Regions from separate parts of the Homo sapiens genome. Here region 2 is linked to region 1. The links are contacts of gene promoters, found by promoter capture Hi-C in human tissues and cell types (Jung and others, 2019). All regions are on one chromosome and are shown on one strand. The core of a region is centred on a gene start or on the middle of the fragment in contact, and the rest is flanking DNA. Distances in the headings are between cores, read along the strand shown.

Region 1 (4,005 bases), core at 1,059-3,558:
TCTCCCAGGTCTTGGAGGACCTGGAGAGCAAAGGACAGCAAAGGTTTTGCAGAATCCCCAAGGCCCGAATCTACGAGAGCCTGAGCTCGGAGCCACGCACAGCGGGTACCTGTGCAATAACCACGCAGCACTCGCTCTCCATGAACCGCTTCCTCATGGTGTGCGCACACTCCCGGGCACCCTCCAAGCAGCGCATAGCCTGGGAGTGCTGGCCCGCGCGCCAGTGGATGGTGCCCAGGTTGTAGCGGGCGCGGAATAGGTCCTCGTAAAGGTGGTTCTGCCTGCAGAGGGGTGACGACCACTGAGCACCCAGGAGTGTCCATGACAGCTGCTGATGCCACACGGGCCCCAGCCCTGCCATGCTGTGGTCTCAGGGCCCTAACCATGCCTGGCCTTCTCCCAGTGTGTGGCACAGGTGTGAGAGGTGGGGGGATGAGGCCCAGCCAGACTGCTCTCTCAGGAGGACTCTGGGAAAAATACTCCCCTAACTACTTCCTCCAGGAACAAGGGACTCCACTCCCTCCTGGGGCGGGGCAGGGCCTTACTCCGCAAGGAAGATGCTCTTCCTGAAGTAATCGTTGCACAGGGCTGTCTGCTGCAGGCTCTCAAAGGTGAGGCCCAGGTTGAGATAGAGGCGGGTCCTCATCTCATTCAGCTCTCCCTGGGCCAGTGTCCCTGGAAGATACCCCCCCAAACACTCAGCCACTTCCTCCCCACATGGGGTTTCCAGCTTTGGGCCCCATTTGGGGCCTGTGCAGCGCCTCTCCTACCCCCTCCCTCCTCCCGAGGTGGGTGCAAGTGTCCTGCGGCAGATGGAGCACAGAGTGGATAAAGAGCTGACGATCTCCAGGGGAAAGGTTGAGCGGGGCATGCACCCCTCACACAAGAGCCTTGCAAAGGGAGGGCTCCAGAAGACGGGATTGCCCAAGGAGGCTGCGGGGGTGCTGGGCTGCAGCCTCTTCGGCCCGAAGTTCAGGAGGCAGAAAACGCGGAGGGGTCTGCCCACCCTCCAGCTCCTCATCCACAATAGCCAAGCTCTTCTCAAAGGCAGCCTGTGCCTGCAGCAAAGCATCCCTCGACTGGCAGTGGTCATAGATGTCCAGGTGGGTGCGGCCGATGGTGGCCCAGGCCCTCTGCAGCTCCGTGTGGTTGCGCAGGGAATGTGCCAGCTCCAGGTACTGGTGCTGGTGCTGAGTGTGGAAGGAAGTCACTGCTGTGAGCCGACTCCGCCTCAAGCAAACCGGCACCGCCAGATTCCCAGAGACCCTGTTCTTGCTAAGGAAAGAGCCTGCTCCCCCTAACCCCCACAGAGCAGGCCAAGGCCAGACACGTGCCCCTCCTCTGCATGCCAAGGGCTCTCTGTGGTGACAGTGGCTTCACGCTGTATGCAGCCAACGCTGTCACGTGGGGAGGGGCAGCTGGGAGTTGGCGGGGGGGTTGCAGTCCTGCCTCCAGCAGCCAGGGTCAGGGAGAGCTTTTGGGATGGGGCCTGACCTCCCCCAACACAAACACAGCTAAAATAACGTTCAGTAATGGTTTCTGGTGCCAGGAAACCTACTCCTGCCCCAGTCCCAGGAAAGGCTGTGGGGTCCCCACCGGAGGACTGGCCCGGGGCGGTGAAGGCAAGGCTGCGTCAGGTCAGGTGTCCCCTCCAGCCCGAGGCTCCTGACGGCGAAGACCAGGCCTCCCTCCTCAGAAAAGGGCTCCAGAGGCCGACCGGGCTGGACGAGGCCAGTGAGGGCGCCCGCACCTGCAAGGCAGCCGGGTAGTCCTCCATCTCGGCCAGGCGCTCTCCGATCTTGCGGTGGGCCACGGCACAGCCCAGAGGGTCGTCAGCGCGCTCCCGAAGCTGCAGCTCCTGCCAGTGCTGCTCCAGAGCCTCGGCGTAGCGGCCTAGGCGGGGGCACAGCACGGCCTGGCAGGCGTCGCGGGTGCGAGGGCGGCCCTGGGGCGGCGTCTGCCGGAAGAGCCCGTCGCCCCCCGGCCCCCGATCCCGGCCCGGGCCCGGGCCCCGGCCCTGCCTCCCGCCTCCTGGTCCCGGCGCTCACCATGGCCGGCCAGGAGCTCCCCCAGCTGGTGGCACAGCGCGGCCTCTTCGCGCCGCTGCCCGGCCCTCTGCGCCTTGGCTTTCGCCTTGCTCAGCTCTGTGGGAGGAAGAGGAGGGCTGGGCCTCCGCGGCGGGGTCCGGGGCCGGGGCCGAGTCCCAAGCCCTCCCCAGCCTCCGCGCCCCCGGAGGAAGGGGTCCCCGAGGAACTTACGGCGAAGCTCGCGCTCCAGGCTCATGCTCGGATCGCCGCGGGATCCGGACTTCCCGCGCTGCGCCGCGGCCCCGCCCCTCGCCGCCGACACGCAGGCCCCGCCCCTCGCCGCCGACACGCAGGCCCCGCCCCTCGCCGCCGACACGCAGGCCCCGCCCCTCGCCGCCGACACGCAGGCCCCGCCCCTCGACGGCGGCGGCGGGCGCGGGGCATTCCGGGAAGTACGGTCGGCCCGCCCGCGGCATCCTCGGAGTTCTCGTGCGGGAGGAGCTGGGGCGGGGTGGCGGCGACAACTGGGGCGTCCCACCCTAGGGGCCGTCTTCCCGGACGCCGGGTTGGCCCGCGCGTGGAGCCCTCTGCCCGGCCCGGGGAGTGCCTGGTGGGGACCCCGTTCCTCCTCGTAGGCGGCGGGGACGCGGGAGGCCGGGGGCCCGGAGCCAGCCCGTCCGGGGTCGCAGCGCGCCCTGGGTGGGGTCTTCTGGGCTGCAGCCCCCGTGCCGCCCGCGCTACTCATGGTGGACGAGCTGTGCCGCCGCCCCAATTCCTCCCGAAATTCACACACACAGCCTGCTCACAGGCGCAACTATTAAAAACGAACGTAGTGTCCAGATAGACTGACGATAAATTCACGAGCATTTGGCTGTGGGGACGTAATAAGGTGTCAGGCGCGCTCCTCCTCCGCAGAACGCAGCTGGGTCACATTTGGGGACTCGGCCCCAAGGACTGTTTTGGGAGGGGAATGTGCTTTCCATAGTGAACAAGTATTGTTTCAGCAATGTGTATGCCAGCTGTATTCTCGGAAGAGTCAGTGAACCTGTGCTTCAGCTGCAGAAGTAGCCCGGGCACAGTGGCCCGCACTGTAATCCGAGCGCTATGGGAGGCCCGGTCAGGAGGATCGCTTGAGCCTAGCAGTACGAGACCAGCCTGGGCAACATAGTGAGGCCCCATCTTTCGTGTGTGTGTGTGTGTGAGACGGAGTCTCGTTCTGTCACCCAGGCTGGCGTGCAATGGTGTGATCTCGGCTCACCACAACCTCCGCCTCCCGAGTTCAAGCGATTTTCCTGCCTCAGCCTTCCAAGTAGCTGGGACTACAGGCGCGTGCCAGCATGCCCGGCTAATTTTTGCATTTTAGTAGAGACGGGGTTTCACCATGCTGGCCAGGCTGGTTTCAAACTCCTGACCTTGTGATCCGCCCACCTCGGCCTCCCAAAGTGCCGGTATTACAGGTGTAAGCCACCATGCCCAGCCCGATACCCCATCTTTATTTAAAAAAAAGAAAGGGAGGGAGGGAGGAAAAGAAAGAAAGGAAGAAAGAGAGGGCCGGGCGCAATGGCTCACCCCTGTAATCCCAGCACTTTGGGAGGCTGAGGCAGGCAGATCATGGGGTCAGTGGATCGAGACCATCCTGGCTAACACGGTGAAACCCCATCTCTACTAAAAATACAAAAAATTAGCCGGGCGTGGTGGCGGGTGTCTGTAGTCCCAGCTACTGGGGAGGCTGAGGCAGGAGAATGGCGTAAACCCGGGAGGCAGAGCTTGCAGTGAGCGGAGATGGCGCCACTGCACTCCAGCCTGGGCAACAGAGCGAGACTCTTGTCTCAAAAAAAAAAAAAAAAAGGAAGAAAGAGAGAAAACAACTGCAAAATTATGTCTAGAATCCTGTGACATGGGGCACCCAGGCCTCTAAAATACCCTTGCTATCCCCCATTACCTTGAGGACCAAACACCTGCCATGCCTTGGGTATCT
Region 2 (4,546 bases), core at 1,957-4,456, 240 kb after region 1:
GTTATGTCCTCCCTGTCACTTAACGTTTATTTTAATAAATCACCGTTTCTGTTGCAAGGATAATACTGAGAAGTATAACAACAATGGCAGGCTGGGCACAGTGACTCATGCCTGTAATCCCAATACTTTGGGAAGCCAAGGCAAGTGGATCACTTGAGCTCAGGAGTTTGAGACCAATCTGGGTGACATGGCAAAACACATCTCTACAAACAAAACCGAACAAAAAAATTAGCCAGGTGTGGTGACACACACCTGTAGTCCCAGCTACTTGGGAGGCTAAGGTGGGAGGATGCCTTGAGCACAGGAGGTCAAGGCTGCAGTGAGCCATGATCGCACCACTGCACTCCAGCCTGGCCAGCAGAGTGAGACCCTGTCTCAAAAACAAGCAAAAACTGGCTGGGCGCGGTGGCTCACACCTGTAATCCCAGCACTTTGGGAGGCCGAGGCGGGCGGATCATGAGGTCAGGAGATCGAGACTATCCTGGCTAACACAGTAAAACCCCGTCTCTACTAAAAATACAAAAAATTAGCCAGGCGTGGTGACAGGAGCCTGTAGTCCCAGCTACTCGGGAGGCTGAGGCAGGAGAATGGCATGAACCCAGGAGGCAGAGCTTGCAGTGAGCCAAGATAGTGCCACTGCACTCTAGCCTGGGCGACAGAGCGAGACTCTGTCTCAAAAATTAAAAATAAAAATAAAATAAAATAAAATATTCTTTTTTTTTTTTTGAGACAGAGTCTCGCTCTGTCACCCAGGCTGGAGTGCAGTGGCACAATCTTGGCTCACTGCAAGCTCCGCCTCCTGGGTTCAAGCGATTCTCTGTCTCAGCCTCCCCAGTAGCTAGGACTACAGGCGTGAGCCACCACACCCAGCTAATTTTTGTATTTTTAGTAGAGACGGGGTTTCACCATGTTGGTTAGGCTGATCTTGAACTCCTGACCTCAAGCGATCTGCTCGCCCCAGCTTCCCAAAGTGCTGGCATTACAGGTGTGAGCCACCGCACCTGGCCATTTTTCTCTAAGAACGTCTTAAAACAATCTTATATAATAATTCATCTAAGTATGTGAGGCTTGTCTCTCTTTTACCTTTATAAACATGTGTTCATCCAAATATGACCTCAGCTTTCTTGTGTGAGAAACCAGCGCCACAGACTTCCAGCTTAATGTAAACTTCCAGTTTACATTACATTGGCAGTGCTGGAGAAACTGAAGACCCACTGACCCAGCACATGCACCCCGGAAGCACCAGATCTTGGCAGTAATAACCATTCCTAACTTTCTAAAACACAGTGTGCCACGAACAAAGTGTTTCACAAGTCTTAATTTACTGAGTCCTCACAACAACCCTATGAGGCCAATATTATTAGTGTTCCCATTTTACAGATGAGAAGCCAAAGGCACAGAGACCTTGCCGAAGACCACAAAGCCAGTAAACAGAAGAGTCGCGACTCAGAGGCGGGCAGCCTGGCTCCAGAACCCGCCCTCCTGTCCACTCTGCTCCCCTGCCTCTCAGGAAGACAGCTGGCTACACCAAGTGCAGGGAGCGAGGCGCCACCCCCATTCATTCACTCCAAGCATTTATGGCTACAGAGCCTGCGCCCAGGGCGGTTTATGGAATGAGTCTCCTCGATTTACAGCCACACCTCCTATCAAATCGCCTTTCCCTCCCCCGGCGCGAGAATCGCACCTTGCTCCTTGTGGATCGGGCGCCGCCGACGGAACCACCTGCTGTCTATAGAGGGCACCTAGGACGCAGCGTCCAATTCCCCTCACTGGCTTCAAAAGACAAATCTCCGTATTGTTGTACCAGGAGGCACGAGAAGCCTCACCACTGTAGGTTTTTCAGCAGAGGTCACTGGAGGTCTGGTTAAACCCGTACAGCACTGAGGGGGAGGGGGCCCGGCTGCGTTTCCGAAGCTGCGCAGCGCCCACAGCAGCTGCTGGTGGGAAGCGGCTCGGAACACACCCACAGCTGCCAAGGAGCCGGCTGCACGTTTTAAAATAAAAAACGTCCTGGGCCCCAAAATGCACAGCCCGCCTCTCTCGCCGCCCTGGGCACGGAACGCCGCCTCCACCCACAGCACTCCAGCAACTGGGAAGCAACCGGGAAGCAACCGAGGGAATTCCAGCTCGGGGGGCAACCGGGAGGGGAAGGCTCCGAGCGCCGGAGCCCCAGCCCGCGCCTGCCGCAGAGGCGAGGCCGCAGAGCCCACCCGCAGGCGGCCATGACCCCACCTGGAGACGCCCATGTCCGCTCCCTGCGCCCCGGGGACAAAGCCCGAGGCTGCACCGCAGCGCACCGCAGCCCTGCACCCGGGCCGCCCTTCAGGACGCGGGCACCAGACCCGACCGGCGGGCATCCACCTTGTCCCCACTCCGACGGCGCCCGGGAATGCGGCCGGTGCCCCGAGCTCAGGCTGGGCACACGTGCACCCACACCCACCACGGGCGGGGTCCCCTCACACCCCCCTCGGGCAGGGGCACACTCACACCCATCTAGGGCCGGGCACACTCACACCTCCCTCGGGCAGGAGCACACTCACACCCCCCTGGGGCCGGACACACCCACACTCCCCTCGGGCCGGGCACACTCATACCCACCGTGGACAGGGGCACACTCACACTCACTCTGGACAGGGGCACACCCACACCCACATTGGGGCCGGGCACACTCACACCCACCTAGGGCAGGGACACAACTCACTCTGGACAGGGTACAGTCACACCCACTTCGGGCCGGGCACACGCGAACTCACCCACCCTCACACTCCCAGCCCGGCCCGTCGGCGCGCACCCGGGCCCCGCGCGGCCTCGGCCCCTCGAGCCTCCGCGCCCCCCGCCCGGCCGGGCCCCGCACACCCACGCCCCCTCCCTCCACGGCCCAGTCACAGCCCCTCCCGCCGCTGCAGTCGCCGCGGGCCTGGATTCCTTGCGCTGCCGGGCCTGGAGCCTCCGCCGAGGCTGGGCCAGGACCACGGGGACCGCAGCGCCGGCCCCTCCGCCATCTTCTTGGCCCGCGCCGCCCACCGCCCGTTGCCCGCGCTCTCACCGGCCGGCTGCGCGCGGGCCGCGCCGCCACAGTCCCTCATCCCGGCCCGCGCGACGCGCGTGAGCCAGCCGCCGCTCCCCGGCCTCTCTGCTGCTCCGCCGCTGCTGCCGCGGCAGCCCGTGCTGTCGGCGTCCTCCGCCGCCGCCGCCGGCCCAGTGCGCGGCGGCCGCGCGTCCTCCCGTCACCAAGCGCAACCCCCCGCCTCCGGCTCCGCCCCCGCGGCGGTCACTACCCGCCGCCAGGGGGCACTGCCTCGCGAGGCCGCATCACGCATGCGCTGGCGCGCGGCATGCCGGGAGCCGGAGTCCCGCGGAGGGCGCGCGCGGCATGCTGGGAGCCGCCTGGCCCCGCCCCGTCGCCGCGCCAGAGGCCTCCCGCGCGGACCTACCCTGTGAGTTAGCGGTGTCTTCCCGTCTCTTTCGGTGCAGAGCAGTTACCATCTGACACGTCTCGGTGTGGTTTGGTGTAATTTTGCCCTCTCAAACCACGTTGGGCTTCCCGAGTCTGAGATTTCACTTTTCTTCGACTCTAGAAATACAGCCATTCTTCTCAAAACGTGGGCTGCCCTGTTCCTCAGTCCTTCTTGTGGCGGGCTCGTGTCTCTTCACCTCCTGTTATTCTCACCTTTTTAGTCCTGTCACTTTTACTCGGTAATTCACTCAGCTGCAGCTCGACTAGTGCTCTATTCGGCGTTTTCTAATCTGCGTTCAGCCTGGTTTTCTAGATTCTCTTAGTGCCAGGTGCGTTTCTGGAAATTGAATCTGACTGGCATTTCTGGAGAAACGGAGGCTAAACAGCCTGAAGCTTCGATAGTAGAAGACAGGGGCGCACACCCTTCAGTCCTGGACATTCCCTGGGTCCTCAACTGTGAGAAGCCGCAAAGGGCTGAAAGGCCCCCGTCAAAAGTCATCCGTGGAGCTCCACCTCCTGCCCTGCAGCTCAGTCGCCTTGCAGGGACTCTCCCGCCTCAGGAGATCTCCCGTCGGGCTGTCTCGCCGCCCGCGCTTCCCTGTTGGGCCGTCGTCACACTTCACTCTTCACTCTTATACACAGGGCTCTGCTTTTTCGCCTCCCGCTCCCTCTCCACTGTATTCACTTAGAAAACCCAACTGGGCGAGCCCAACCCTTCTCCTCCATGACTGCTGAAGAAAATCACACATCCAGGCTGACTGCCTTCACCTTAAACTTGTGACAACACACTGGCGGCGAGCACTTCCCACCCCCGTGACCACACACTGGCGGCGACCATTTCCCACCCCTGTGACCACGCACTGGCGGCGAGCACTTCCCACCCCCGTGACCACACACTGGCGGCGACCATTTCCCACCCCCGTGACCACGCACTGGCGGCGAGCACTTCCCACCCCCGTGACCACGCACTGGCGGCGAGCACTTCCCACCCCGTGACCACACACTGGCGGCGACCATTTCCCACCCCCGTGACCACGCACTGGCGGCGAGCATTTCCCACCCCCGTGACCACACACTGGCGGCGAGCAC

The links. The method cuts DNA at HindIII sites, captures the fragments that hold promoters and counts their contacts. A contact is called where the count stands out against the background at its distance.
Region 2: a contact is called between the fragment with the promoter of ARHGAP39 here and the fragment with the promoter of TONSL in region 1, in 3 of the 25 tissues and cell types used here (dorsolateral prefrontal cortex, heart right ventricle and mesenchymal stem cells).

The regions. Positions count from the first base shown.
Region 1 is chr8:144,442,132-144,446,136 of GRCh38, forward strand. It overlaps TONSL (tonsoku like, DNA repair protein), which reads right to left and starts at 2,309. Exons shown (of 26, transcript NM_013432.5): 1 at 2,259-2,309; 2 at 2,049-2,144; 3 at 1,751-1,893; 4 at 1,007-1,190; 5 at 546-675; 6 at 110-281; 7 at 1-20. The coding sequence starts at 2,283. RefSeq lists an enhancer at 1,201-1,709 and silencers at 1,955-2,724, 2,765-2,904. The HindIII fragment of the contact is 9,197 bases long and covers 1-4,005 here.
Region 2 is chr8:144,682,640-144,687,185 of GRCh38, forward strand. It overlaps ARHGAP39 (Rho GTPase activating protein 39), which reads right to left and starts at 3,207. Exons shown (of 12, transcript NM_025251.3): 1 at 3,047-3,207. RefSeq lists enhancers at 1,074-1,686, 1,687-2,299, 2,913-3,524. The HindIII fragment of the contact is 13,771 bases long and covers 1-4,546 here.